Regions from separate parts of the Homo sapiens genome. Here region 2 is linked to region 1. Evidence: promoter capture Hi-C in 16 types of primary human blood cells and fetal thymus (Javierre and others, 2016). All regions are on one chromosome and are shown on one strand. Each heading gives the region's core, a stretch centred on a gene start or on the middle of the fragment in contact. The rest is flanking DNA. Distances are from core to core; before and after follow the strand shown.

Region 1 (7,241 bases), core at 1-2,500:
CCACAGGTCAGCATTACTGTGTGGGTCAATACCCTCCTTTTGTGGGGTAAGGGTGGTATTGGAATGCAAGGGTGGAGGCTCCAGGTCCCTCATCCCATTTTGTCCTTCATTAGTCTACTCATACCTGTTTCCTACCAGAGGACCATGTCTGGAGATGCCTTAAACCAAAAAGAGCTATATAAACAGGCTTCACATCAGGGTAATGGATGGACAGGATTTTTGTGGTCCCTGGGACCAGCTATGATAAAAAGGGGTCCATTGGCTGCAGTCAGCAAGGGAGAAGCGTCCGTTGACTTGTCAGTAACCCTATGTCTTGTTATGAGTAATGTCCTTCAAATATCCTCCCCCTTACGTCCCCAATATTTAACGTCTTGTTTAGACCTTTATTACCTCCCACCTAAACTGTCTTTAAAATCGTAGTTCTTGAAATGGCATTTTAATAGGTCTTCACCTCCTGCTTCACGGAACATCTACACAAGGGTCCAGATCTTTCATCATAGGGATCAGCTCCAATACCATATCTCTCTCTGCTCCAGCACCTTCAATGGCTGGCTCCCAGCAGACCCCTGAATTGGGTATAAACTCAGCCTGGTACTCAAGGCTCTCTACAATACGGCGCCCACCTACCTTTCATGGATTAGCTCCTAACACTACCTGTTTAGCAAATATGCAAATACGCAACAAATATGTTCAACAAGTAAGCAACCTCCCAACTCCTTGCTCATGCAGTGCTCTTGGCTCGGAATGCCCGTTCTTTTCTCCCTCATTCTCCCCAAATGAAAATCTGCCCATCTGCTACTTTCTCCACGGATCGTCACATCGTAGACAATAAGATCCTGAGGGACAAGAGCAAAGTTGTTTCTAGTACACCTCTCCTCCAACCCCGAACCCCGGCCACTTTGCCCTGCGCCTGGCATGCAGGGAGGTGAGCTGACAGCAGTGACCTCGGCTGAGCCTCAGAACTGGGATCCAGAATTCCAAAACACCTATGCATGGAAGGCCACAGACAAAGCTCTCCCGTCCCCGGCCCCTCCGCGACACCCAGGAACCCCCTCCTGAACCTCGCCCACACCCCAGCTCGCGCCTCCAGCCACATGGTTTGGGGTAACCCGTCACTCAGCCCTCTCACCGCCGTGACTCTCTGGCCCTCCGTCTCGATGGTTTCACCGCGCCTGCACCTTGGGGAAGCTGCGTTCGGCCCCGCCCCGGGTCCTTTCATCTACTTCCCGCCACACCCACAGAGAAGCCCACGCCACTCTACCCCAGAGCTCTCGATGGTGCTTCTCCGGCTTCAGGGCTGGAGTGGGGGTGGAGGGCGGGAAAAACCACAGAGACAAAACATAGAGTACCCCGGCAGCCGGCAAGAGGAAGAGAGAGTGGCTTCCACATCCCCAATATCCTAGAGGCGGCTGAGCCGGAGGCGGTCGCACAAAGCGGGCCCCGGGGGCCGTTCCAGCCGCGGCCGACCATAGAGATGCGGCTCCCGCCGGCTCTGGGTCTGGAGGTGAGTGAGCGGCTGCGGGGCGGAACTGGGAAGGGAATGCGGGTGGAGCGAGCTGGAGGCAAAGTTTTTCGAGCCCCGGGATCAGGGTGGGCCTGGGCGCTGGGAACTCTCGGAAGGAGGTACTGAAGGGAGCACCCAGACGAGCTGGGCCCCGGCGCTGCAGTCGCGTCACGGTTCTGGACCCCGCCCGGGTACCTGCTGCTCTCAGGACAAAATCATGACGATGCTCCATCCCAAGCCTTCCAGGTTACAAACCGCCTTTCCAGTTCGCTGGCTCTTATGATCCAGCTCCTGCCCGACGATGTGGACACTGTCATCACCTCCATTTTACAGATAGGAAAGCTGAGGCCCAGAGAAGCGAAGCGACTGTGTCTGTCCAAGACCACGCGGTGAGTCAGAGCCAGAGGCAGGTGGGAACCTGGGTCGCTAGGCCGGGGCCCGTTGTTTCTCCAGGCCTTCTCTCTGCCTTAGTCTGTCCTTTCTCTTCCTCAGCCCTCCTGCCCGGAAGATAAGCGTATTTCTTCTCTGGTGCCCACCTGTCTCCTACCTCACCCTGCCCTCCCGCAGGTGAAGGTTCTTAATCTTGACGGCTCAGCGTCCTCCTTGGCTCCCCCCGGAGGCCATGTATGGTCAAGCTTGAAGATTCCCCAGAACAGCGATAATATTCAGTAAGTGGAGGCTGCAGTTTCCAGAGAATCCCTCTGACCACGGGAGTGCACTTTCCAGCCACCTTGTGAATCCCTGTGATCTGTTGTTTTGAGTCCATGGGATTCTGGAAATAGGGACTATCAGATTGCAGGATCTTGGTTTTTGTTTGTTTTTTTTTTGAGACGGAGTTTCGCTCTTGTTGCCCAAGCTGGGGTGCAATGGTGCGATCTCGGCTCACTGCAACCTCCGCCTCCCGGGTTCCAGCGATTCTCCTGCCTCAGCCTCCCGAGTAGCTGGGATTACAGGCGTGTGCCACCACACCCTGCTGATTTTTTGTATTTTTAGTAGAAACAGGGTTTCACAATGTTCGCCAGGCTGGTCTCGAACTTCTGACCTCAGGTGATCGGCCCGCCTTGGCCTCCCAAAGTGCTGGGATTACAGGCCTGAGCCACCGCGCCCGGCCTGGTTTCTTCTTCTTTTTTTCTTTTTGCATCTTGTCTGTGACTCAATTTCATGAAGTGATTCCCATCATTCTTATTAATTACTAATTATTCAGCTTAAACTCATTTTAGCCATGTATAACAGGGTATGCAATTCAATTGTCATTCATTCCTCAGTTATGTTCCCATATTTAGTTTGAGGCCATAGTCAGTTAATGAGTTTGAAATTTCTCCAAATGTGTTACGTTATAGGTGAGGAACCACTGGTTTTGTACAAGATACCTAGCTTTACTCCAATGCAGCTCCATATCTGTGGTTCTTCACTGGAATCTTCGATTGTGGGTGATTTGTGTTCGTTGAAGTGATAATGTCAGTATCACAAAGTAATATCATTGAAGTGATAATGTCAACAAATTACTAAAAAAGCTATACATCTAGGGAGAGAGACTGACAGGTAAACAACAGTGCAGTGTGACCTCGTTTCTGATAGGGCTGTGTACAGAGTGCCCTTAGGACGCCAGAAGAGAGAAGATAAGAGTTTCGGGAAGCCAGGCCCGGCGCGGTGCCTCACGCCTGTAATCCCAGCACTTTGGGAGGCCGAGGCAGGTGGATCACCTGAGTTCTGGAGTTCAAGACCAGCCCAACCAACATGGAGAAACCCCATCTCTACTAAAAATACAAAATAGTAGCCAGGCGTGGTGGTACATGCCTGTAATCCCAGCTACTCAGGAGGCTGAGGCAGGAGAATCGCTTGAACCCAGGAGGCAGAGGTTGTAGTGAGCTGAGATCGTGCCACTGCCCTCCAGCCTAGGTGACAGACTAAGACTGTCTCAAAAAAAAGAATGTCAGGAGGCCTTCATGGTGGAAGTGACATTTGTGCAGCTTCTTCAAGGATAGTTAATTGGTTAGCCAGATAAGAGAGAGAGATTGAGAAGGGGAAAAGGCATATCAAGCCAAGAGACGCAAAAGGCTGTGAGGGTATGAAAGCAAAAGAGAATGTGGTGGGTCTGGAGAATGGCACATCATCTGGTTCAGAGATCTGCTGAGGGGAGAAGTGGGAGATGAGTCAGGGGAGGTCAGCAGGAGCCAGATGATGAAGGAAGGGCCTTCCTTATAATCCATGCTGAGGAATAGTGAGATTATCAAAGGTTAAGAGGGAAAGGGACCAGGCAAGGTGGCTCACGCCTATAATCCCAGCACTTTGGGAGGCCAAAACGGGCAGATCACCCAAGGTCAGAAGTTCGAGACCAGCCTGGCCAACATGGTGAAACTCCATCGCTGTTAAAAATACAAAATTTACCTGGGCGTGTGTGGCACATGCCTGTAGTCCAGCTATTGGGGAGGCTGAGACAGGAGAATTGCTTGAACCCAGGAGGCGGAGGTTGCAGTGAGCCAAGATCACGCCACTGCACTCCAGCCTGGGTGACAGAGCGAGACTCTGTCTCAAAAAAAAAAAAAAAAAAGGACTTCTGAGATATTTGGGCCCCACCTAATTTTGTTGCAGATAAGAAATCTGAGACCCAAATTGCTTAATGACTTGGCTAAGGGCACTTAGCTAGCAGAAGACAACCTGCAGTCATTAATATATTGGCCAATACTTGTTGGCTGTCTCCTAATATTCTGTTATCATTTTTATACTTTTTGTTCTGAACATTATCATAAAAGAAAGCCTCTATTTAGTCTCATATGGTATATATGGCATATTGCCATGCAAGAAAATGCCTAAGTGGGTGGGCACTGGGCTGTGTACCCACGCCAGCCAGGAAGAAAGTAAGAACTCTAACCTTACTTTGTTTTTCTTCTGGTTGGCTTGTCAGCATTTAAGAAGCCAAAACACACAAGTCGGTGGTGATGACAGACCCCCTTTTGGACTCACAGCCAGCCAGTAGCACCGGGGAGATGGATGGACTGTGCCCTGAGCTATTGCTGATCCCCCCGCCTCTCTCTAACCGTGGAATCCTGGGGCCTGTCCAGAGCCCCTGTCCTTCCCGGGACCCTGCACCTATACCTACTGAGCCAGGCTGCCTGCTGGTAGAGGCCACAGCAACTGAAGAGGGACCAGGGAACATGGAGATCATTGTGGAGACAGTAGCTGGAACCCTGACCCCAGGTGCTCCTGGAGAGACCCCAGGTACAAACACAGTTGCAAGCAGGCCAGTGGGACAAGCAGCTCTGAGGTTTTGTCTGGGTTATTTTTGATTCTGTATAAATATGATGAGAACACAAGGTAGCATCCTATTTTTATACTTGGAGATGTTGTCATTTGGTTTGCAGTTGGTGCATGTTGATTGAAGGCTGGCGAAGTGGTGCACAGCCTTCTACCAAGCTTTTGGCAGTCTGTCCTGCAAGGGCTTCATGTGTGCTAGGCAGTAATCCAGAAAGTAAGACCTTTCTGACACCTCCGCCCAATCCTGGCTTGTCCCTACTCTTACAGTCCTTGGAGATTCTTTCCTCCATATTGACCCTCCTACCCAGGAACTGCAGCCAGGGATTAAGCAAAAACCCTGTCTCTACCACCCTGGGCTTGGCAGGGCTTTCCAGAAGTGATCTGGTATTTCCCTGCCCTAGTTTTTTGTGTATAACATACTTTACTCATCCGAGGCATGTTGTTAAGAATAAGAGTTGAGGCCTGGTACAGTGGCATGCACCTGTAGTCTCAGCTACTTGGGAGGCTGAGGCAGGAAGATTGCTTGAGCCCAGGAGTTAGAGGCTGCCGTATGTTATGATCATACCTGTGAATAGCCACTGCACTCCAGCCTGGGCAATATAGTGAGACCCCCATCTCTTTAAAAAAACAAAACAAAACAAAAAAGTAGGAGTTGAGCATTTGTATTTATCTCAGATGAAAGATTCTCCCTTTATTCATCCCATTATCCTCACCTCTTATTTTTAGGAAGCTTCCCTGTTTTTTAATTACCGTCCTCCAGCCATAGTTGTCACCACTTCAGTTGGCACTGTAGTATAGTGACAAAGAATATTGGGAAAGATTAGCTAATTTGACCATATAATATTTCCAAACTTCCATATGGTGAAAGAAATTTAAAAAAATAAAAAGCCTAGGAAAAACATTCGCAATATGTAAGAAAGAGTTAATATCTTTAAAATTCAAAGAGCCACAGTAAGAAAAAGAAACCATCTTTTTTGTTGTTTGCTTTGCTTTTTTTGTTTTCTTTTGGTTTTGGGGGTTTTGTTGAGACAGGGTCTTGCTCTGCCACCCAGGCTAGAGTGCAGTGGCACAGTTACGGCTCACTGCAGCCTTGACCTCCTGGGCTTAAGCAATCCTCTTGCCTCAGCTTCCCATGTAGCTGGGGCCACAGGTGTATACCACCCACACTCAGCTAGTTTTTAAATTTTCTTTGGTAGAAACGAGGTCTCACCTTGTTGCCCAGGCTAGTCTTGAACTCCTGGGCTCAAGCAATCTTCCCACCTCGGCCTCCTAAAGTTTTGGGATTACAGACATGAGCCATCGCACCCAGCAGAAACCTTTTTTTTTTTTTAAATGGGAAAAAGAAATCTATGTGCAATGCTCTAAAGAAGAAATAAAAGTAGTAACCATATGGAAGGATGCTTAATCTCACTAGCAAAGAAATAAATTCCAGTTAAAAATAAGAGATGTGGCTGGGCATGGTGGCTCATGCCTATAATCCTAGCACTTTGGGAGGCCGAGACAGGCAGTTGCCTGAGCTCAGGAGTTTGAGACCAGCCTGGGCAAGATGGTGAAACCCCACCTCTGCTAAGATACAAAAAATCAGCTGGCATGGTGGTGGGCACCTGTAATCCCAGCTACTCAGGAGGCTGAGGCAGGAGAATTGCTTGAACCCGAGAGGCGGAGGTTGCAGTGAGCCAAGATCGCACCACTGAACCCTAGCCTGGACAACAAAGCGAGATTCTGTCTCAAAAAAAAAAAAGGAGATGCATTTTGGCATAAATTAAACATTTTTAATAATACCTAGTGTTGATGAGGCTATAGGAAACACTATGTTACAGCTTATGGAGATACAAATTAGTATAATCTTTTGAAGGTCAATTTAGCTACATAGCAAATTTTACAATTTGCATACTCTGACCACTAATTCCACTGTAGGAATGCACAAAGACACCGGAATTACAGTGGCCAGAGCAAGGATGAGGATATATAGGGGTGCTTTATTTGTAATGGTTGGAAACAGCCCAAATGTCCATCAGTAACGGCACAATTTATTTTTTAAAATTATTTTTAGAATGGGCAACATAGGGAGACCCCATCTCTACAAAAAAATTTAAAATTAGCCAGGAATGGTGATGCCTGTAGTCCCACCTACTCAGGAGGCTGAGGTGGGAGAATCACTTGAGCCCAGCAGGTCAAGGCTGCAGTGAGCTGTGATCACACCACCACTGCACTGCAGCCTGGGTGACAGAGAGAGACCTTGTTTCCCCCACCACCAGCCAAAAAAATTATTTTTATTTTTTTGGTCCCCAGGGAAGCAAGGGCAGAATTTCGTTTTGATTTGTTCATGCTCTGGAAAAAACATGAACTGGATAAGAAAGTACAAACTAGATGTAAATGTACTCAAAGATAAAAATATCTTTGATATATAGCAAGTGGAAAGAAAAGGGTCAAAAAGAAACACACCAAATTGTGCGTGTGAAGGTGCTGGGTGGTTATTCTT
Region 2 (7,241 bases), core at 2,339-4,838, 240 kb before region 1:
AGACAAAGTTTTCACTCTTATTGCCCAGGCTGGAGTGCAGTGGCGTGATCTCGGCTTACTGCAACCTCTGCCTGTCGGGTTCAGGCGATTCTCCTGCCCCAGCCTCCTGGGTAGATGGGATTACAGGCACATACCACCATACCCAGCTACATTTTTTGTATTTTTTTTACTAGAAATGGGGTTACACCATGTTGGCCAGGCTGGTCTCGAACTCCTGACCTCAGGTGATCCGCCCACCTCGGCCTCCCAAAAAGTGTTGGGATTACAGGCATTAGCCACCGCACCTAGCCAGCCCCCTAATCTCTTACCCACTTCACTATGTGGTGCCACTTCAAAGGGCTTGAACTGGGAAATGACTGTTTCTCTTCTTCCCAAAACGGCTGTGTGTGTGTGCATGTGCACGTGTTTTAACTTGGGTTTGTTTGGTTTTTTTTTTAGGCAGAGTCTTGCTCTGTCACCCAGGTTGGAGTGCAGTGGCACAATCTCGGCTCACTGCAAGCTCCGCCTTCCGGGTTCACACCATTCTCCTGTCTCAGCCTCCCGAGTAGCTGGAACTACAGGCGCCCGCCACCACGCCCGGCTAATTTTTTGTATTTTTAGTAGAGATGGGGTTGCACCGTGTTAGCCAGGATGGTCTCGATCTCCTGACCTCGTGATCCACCCGCCTTGGCCTCCCAAAGTGCTGGGATTACAGCCACCACACCCAGACTTAACTTGTTATTGAAGTAACGTACAGAAAAATACACAAATCCTATGTGCACTTAACTTTTAACACAATGAACAAAGTAGTGTAATCAGGTCCCTGAGGAAGAAACAAATCATTACCAGCTCCCCAAACCCTTCTCCTGTTTCCCTCTATTCACTGCATCTCCTACAGGGATAACCACTATCATGCCTTTTTATTTCATTTTATTTATTTTATTTTATTTTATTTATTTTATTTTTTGGAGATGGGGTCTCACTTTGTCACCCAAGCTTAAGTGCAGTGGCATGATCATAGCTCACTGTAGCTTCGACCTCCTGGGTTGGGATTACAGGCCACTATCCTGCCTTCCAACTGCATAAGTTAACTTTGCCTGTTTTTGCAGCTGCCACTGGGATCATACAGTGTGCTCTCATCTGGAACTTCCCACATCTCCACGTGCCCTCACCTTCAGTGAGAGTCTGAGAAGAAGCCGGGTGGGGTTGCTGCCCACATGGTCGGGGCTGCTGCCAATGCCACTCATCTCACCGTCACTTGCTGCCTCTCTGCCTGCCCCCTGGTCCATGGTTCTCTGACATCTCTCTCTCCTTGAGGTGGGGAAGCATGTTCTGTTTCTCATTCTCAGCTCTTTCATAAGGAGTTCCCACAGCAGAGATGTCTGTGCCCTAGCGAGCCCGTTCTTGCCCTATACCCCAAATGTTTCCCTTTCCACCAGGAAGGCCCTGAGGCCTGAGGGAGTGAGGGTAGAGGTGCACCAAGCCCCAGTGGTCATGCCCAGCCTCACAACATTCCAAATAGCACTCCTCCCTCTGCCCTGTTCGGCGGACCCCTTCCCTGTCCAGTGAAACCTTTTTCTCACTCAGGGTGATGAGCTCTCCGGCCTCTGTTGTTCCTCCCCTGCAGTCTGCCATCCACTACAGACCCCCAGCCCACCAGACACTGGGGAACCCCAACTGTGGCCATGGTTTACTTCCTCTTCCAAGGATTTCTGATGCCATGCCGGTTAAGGGACATGGCTTAAGGGTCTAGGTATGTTACATATGAGGAGAGTAAGGCTCAGAGAAATTTAAGGAATTTTCCAAAACCATATAATTTATAAGTGATGAGAATTAGACCTCAGAAGTGCCATTTGATGCCAGGCTAGAAGGCTAAGTGTCTGCTAAAGGCCACCATTCAGTGAGACTAAAATGGGTGAGACGTCTAGGTACTTTACATATATTACATCTAGTCCTCAAAACAACTTCAGCAGATGAGTGTTTTTATTTCAATATAGCAGATACAGAAACTGAGGTCCAGAGAACTTAATGACTTTGCCTTAGGTCACAGGGATAGTGAGAGACTAAACTAGGATTCAATCCCTCCCGCCGCACAGGCTGACCCCAAAGCCTGGCTCTTTCCTCTGCACTGTGCCATGCTCACTGGAAGGATTTTGACAAGAGCAGATATGAGTGGACATGGAGCTAAGGCAGGACAGTTGGGGTACATTCCAGAGAGAGGGAAACATGGACCACAGAGGGGCTGTTTCCATTTTCTATTACTGAGTAACAAACCGCTCCAAAATTCAGTGGCTTAAAAATAACCATTTACATCCCACAGTCCTGTGGGTTGACTACAGTCAGCTGGGCAGTTCTCACGTGGGGTCTCTCAAGCAGTTCAGTTAGATGGTGGCTAAGGCTGGAGTCATCTGAAGGCTCAACTCGGCTGGATATCCAAGATGACTTTTTAAAAATTTATTTATTTATTTATTTATTTTTGAAGACACAGCCTCACTTCGTCACCCAGGCTGGACTGTAGTGGCGCAATCTCACTCACTGCAACCTCCACCTCCCAGGTTCAAGTGATTCTCATGCCTCAGCCTCCCGAGAAGCTGGGACTACAGGCATGTGCCACTATGTCTGGCTAATTTTTTGTATTTTTAGTAGAGATGGGGTTTCGCCATGTTGGCCAGGATGGTCTTGAACTCCTGGCCTCAAGTTATCCGCCTGCCTCGGCCTCCCAAAGTGCTGAGATTACAGGTGTGAACCACTGAGCCCAGCCCCAAGATGACTTTTTAAAGTCACATGTCTGGCACCTCATCTGAATTGGCTGGAACTGAAGGGGCCTGCCCAGGCATTACTCTCTCTATACAGCCTTCCCATGTGGCTTGTTTCGGGTTCCTCATAGCATGGTAGTCTCTGGGTAGACAGACCTCATACACGGTGATTGGCTTGCCCCAGAGTGAACATTCCGAGCGACTGAGGCAAAAACTGCAAAGCTTCCTATTCCCTCTCTTCAGCAGTCATGCAGCTTCGCTTCCACAGCACACTCAGTGAAAAGGAAGCATGGACTGGCCCTTTCAAGGGGAGGGGACAATACACAGGTGTGAAGCATGATTCAAGGCGGACCACCTTTGGGGCCCAGCTATTACAGGGGCTGAGGCAGGAAAGGACTGCTCAGGGAACTGCACACAGTCATGCTTCAGTGGAACATGGTGTGGAAGTGAGAAAAAACTGGAGATGATCGTTTGTGGCATATGGTGGAGGGCTTCAATGCTCAGGAACCTGCATATGGATACACACTGGAGTCTTTAGCTGCCCAGCATCTGAGCCCCCTTCATATGTTGGTGGAGCCTCCCTAATGTGAGTCTTAGTGAGAAGTCAGATACTTGCTCACCTGGCCCCTAGCAGGAAGATCACAGCCAAATCAATGCTCCCAGTCAGGACTCTAAATCTTCAACAAGTGACCCAAGGAGGAAGAGGACTGTTTATAATTCATCCCAGAGGTGGCAGCAGCAAGTGCTCAGGGTGGTGGTAGCCATGTGGGAAGCAGCCCCCAAGCCCCTTAATCAGGCTGCACTTGGGACAGGATTTAGCTAAAGTTCTAGCTGCCTAGCTTCTCTTGGCTCCTGCTTGCTTCCTGAGCCTGATTCTTGAGGCTTCCTGTCAATTCTTTGAGTTCCCTGATGTCATCCCAGTAAATTCCTCTTCTACTAAGTGAACCAGAGTCTGTTTCTGTTGTTTGCAATTAAGAACCCAAATTGGTACAAAGATCCATTGAGAGCTTTAGTCAGAGGAAATGACATGATCAGAGCACTTCGTGGGAGAGAAAAACAGAACAATAGGATAGGGATGGATTGAAGAGGAAGAAAGAGGAATGACAGAGGCTAGTTGGAAGGTCGTTGTGATGTTTGAGGTGTGTGGTGAACTAGGATATTGACCATGTGAATGAAGTGGAAGAATAAGCAGATCTTGGCCACTGATTGAATATAGAAAGGAGAAGAGAAGGTGAGAGTCCAAGTTTACACCAGTTTTGAGGTTCAGTGACTAAGAAAATGATGATGTGACAAAGAGAAACAAGCAAGTTAAGGAGAACTGGTTTGGAGGGGAAAGTCATTCATTCACTTATTCAACAAATATTAAATGCCTGGTCTATGCCAAGCACTGTGCTAGGCATTGAGAAAAGAACAGTAAACAAAACAAAGTCTCAGCCCTTAGCAAATACATACATAAGATAATGAATCTGCATTAATAAAGCTTGAGCCGGGCATGGTGGCTCACGCCTGTAATCCCAGCACTTTGGGAGGCTGAGGTAGGTGGATCACTTGGGGTCAGAAGTTCAAGACCAGCCTGGCCAACATAGTGAAACCCCATCTCTACTAAAAATACAAAAAATGAGCTGGGCGTGGTGGCAGGCCACCTGTAATCCCAGCCACTCAGGAGGCTGATGCAGGAGAATTGCTTGAACCTGGGAGGCAGAGGAGTCAGAGGTTGCTGTGAGCTGAGATGGCGCCATTGCACTCCAGCCTGGGTGACAGAGCAGGACTCTGTCTCAAAAATAAAATAAAATAAAATAAAGCTTGAGTGGGTGGTATCACAGGCATACATTAAAACATGTCTAGCTGGCAGCTGGAACTTCAAGAAAGATCACAGGAGACCAGGTGTGGTGGCTCACACCTGTAATCCCAGCACTTTGGGAGGCCAAGATGGGTGGATCACCTGAGGTCAGGAATTCAAGACCTGCCTGGCCAACATGGCGAAACCCTGTCTCTACTAAAATACAAAAATTAGCCCGGCATGGTGGTGCACACCTGTAATACCAGCTACTCAGGAGGCTAAGGCAGGAGAATTGCTTGAACCCAGGAGGCAGAGGTTGCAGTAAGCTGAAATCACACCACTGCATTCCAGCTTGGGTGACAGAGCGAGACTCTGTCTCAAAAGAAAAAAAAAGAAAGATCATAGGAAGGAAGTTTGGGCCTGAAGACAGAAGTTAGTAGTGATTTCTGTAGACATTTATTTATTTATTCATTCATTCACTTATATTTATTGAGTTCCTACTATGTACTTAATACCATTCTTGGCATTAGAAATACAGCAAAAAACAACAGAGTCTCAGTTCTCGTAGAGTTTCCATTATAGAGTGTGGAAGCAGAGCATAAAGAAATACACAAATATGGTCAAATATGTGATCTATACTATGAAGAAAAATAAAGCAAGGTAAAGGTAAGAGGAAGTTTGCTATGTTATACAGGATGTTCTGCCAAGGCTCCTCTTTTCTATGTTTATTTTGTGTGGGTTTTTTTTTCTTTTTTGAGACAGGGTCTTGCCCTGTCAATCAGGCTGGAGTACAGTGGCTTGATCATAGCTCAATGTAGACTTGAACTCCTGGGATCAAGTGATCCTCCCGCCTCAGTCTTTCAAAGCACTGGGATTCCAGGCATGAGGCACCATACAAGGCCCCTCTCATAAGGAGATATTTCAGTGAGGTCCTGAATGAAGGAAGACAACATTCATGCGGTTATCTGGAGGAAACCGATTTCAGGCAGAGGGAGGAGGTGCAAAGGCCCTGAGGCAAGACAGTGTTTGGATTGCTCAAGGAATTTGCAGGAGGCCAGTGTGGCTAAAGTAAAGTGGATGAGAGAGAGTTGGAGGAGAAAATGAGGTGAAAGAGGTAGCAGGGAGCCAATCCTATCACGCCTTGTAAGTCATGGTGACCTGTAAGTCTCAGCTCACTGCAACCTCCCCCTCCCGGGTTCAAGAGATTCTCCTGCCTCAGCCTCCCGAGTAGCTGGGACTACAGGTGCACATCACCACGCCCGGCTAATTTGTACTTAGTACTTTGGCTCTTGTCCTGTGTAAGATAGAAAGACTTTAGAGACTTTTGAGCAGAGGAGGCACATCACATGACTGACACTTTAGAAGGATCACTTGGGCTGCTGGGTATAGAATAGACTGGGGTTGTGTAATGGCAGAATCAAGGGGAGCAACTAGGAGACAGTTGTAGTCAATTAAGCCAAGAGATGATGATAGCGTGGACCATGAAGGAATGATGGAGGAAGTGACATGTGATCAGACTTTAAATAGAAACTGATGGGGAACTAACACGATCTGCCAATGGGTTTGATGACTCTAGGATTTTTTTTAACGGGGATAGCTGGAAAAGCATTTGCCATTTACTGAATAGAGAGGATTAAGAAGTACATCTAAAGCTCCAAGAATGGCCAGGCGCAGTGGCTCACGTCTGTAATCCCAGCGCTTTGGGAGGCCAAGGCAAGTGGATCACTAGAGCTCAGGAGTTCAAGACCAGCCTGGGCAGCATAGTGAAACACCCGTCTCTATAAAAAATACAAAAATTAGCCAGGGGTGATGGTGCACACCTGTAGTCTCAGCTACTTGGGGGACTAAGGCAGGAGAATTTCTTGAACCCAGGAAGTCAAGGGTGCAGTGAGCTGTGTTTGCAATAAATGCACTCCAGGCTGGGCAAAAAGTGAGACCCTGTCTTAAAATAAATAAATAAATAAATAAAGCTCCAAGAATAGTGAAACTGTTTCCAGCCTTCCTGCCTGCCTGCTGGTCTTTCTTTTTGAATAATTTCACTCAAAAGCCATAACATAGAGCCAAGCAAGACAAGGCACCCATGCAGGGGCAGAGGGGACATTGGGCTGGCATAGGTTATGAGAGCCCAAGATGGAACAAGACAGTGTCTGCAAGAGGAGTGGAGGGAGCAGCAGCAGTGACAATGAACCAGTTACTTACAAAGGATTAATCCAATAAGAAGAAAGAGAGAAGTTACAAAAATCGAAAAGGAGAAAACAAAAATAAGCCCTGTGGTGTTTGATTGGAATCAAAGGTGAACTCATTGTTTTTTACATGGAAAGATCAATAGATAGATGATAGATAGATAGATAGATAGATAGATAGATAGATAGATAGATAGATAGATGGATAGATACATAGATACATAGTAGACATAAATGTGTGTATAATAATACATATATTTCCTAGGACTGTCCACTGAGAGGTCTGGAAACAATGACACTCCAGGAACAATGACACTCCAGAAACAATGACACTCCAGGAACAATGACACTCCAGAAACAATGACACTCCAGGAACAATGAGCACATCTAGCACCCAGATCTTGGCTTCTACACATCATTCTCTATTAAAAGAAAGAAGCATCCCTTGGAGCAATGGCTGATTCCAGAGCTGTGGCAGAGAAATTACAAGATAAGCCTGGAACATCTTGCTGTGACAGAAAGTAAGCAAGTGCTCAAAGAATT

What was found. The method cuts DNA at HindIII sites, captures the fragments that hold promoters and counts their contacts. A CHiCAGO score of 5 or more calls a contact.
Region 2: a contact is called between a fragment that was not itself captured here and the fragment with the promoter of ZNF142 in region 1, in 6 of 17 cell types (naive CD4 T cells, M1 macrophages, activated CD4 T cells and 3 more). The highest score is 6.5, in naive CD4 T cells.

The regions. Positions count from the first base shown.
Region 1 is chr2:218,653,632-218,660,872 of GRCh38, reverse strand. ZNF142 (zinc finger protein 142) reads left to right here and starts at 1,250. Exons shown (of 11, transcript NM_001379659.1): 1 at 1,250-1,504; 2 at 1,743-1,893; 3 at 1,997-2,172; 4 at 4,410-4,723. The coding sequence starts at 4,444. It overlaps BCS1L (BCS1 ubiquinol-cytochrome c reductase complex chaperone), which reads right to left and starts at 1,190. Exons shown (of 8, transcript NM_001079866.2): 1 at 1,130-1,190. RefSeq lists enhancers at 1,067-1,196, 2,007-2,126. The HindIII fragment of the contact is 10,571 bases long and covers 1-2,141 here.
Region 2 is chr2:218,900,894-218,908,134 of GRCh38, reverse strand. LINC01494 (long intergenic non-protein coding RNA 1494) reads left to right here. Exons shown (of 5, transcript NR_110238.1): 4 at 1,089-1,296; 5 at 6,964-7,241. Among named protein-coding and RNA genes, the nearest start is that of WNT10A, 24 kb to the right of the region's middle. The HindIII fragment of the contact is 1,258 bases long and covers 2,960-4,217 here.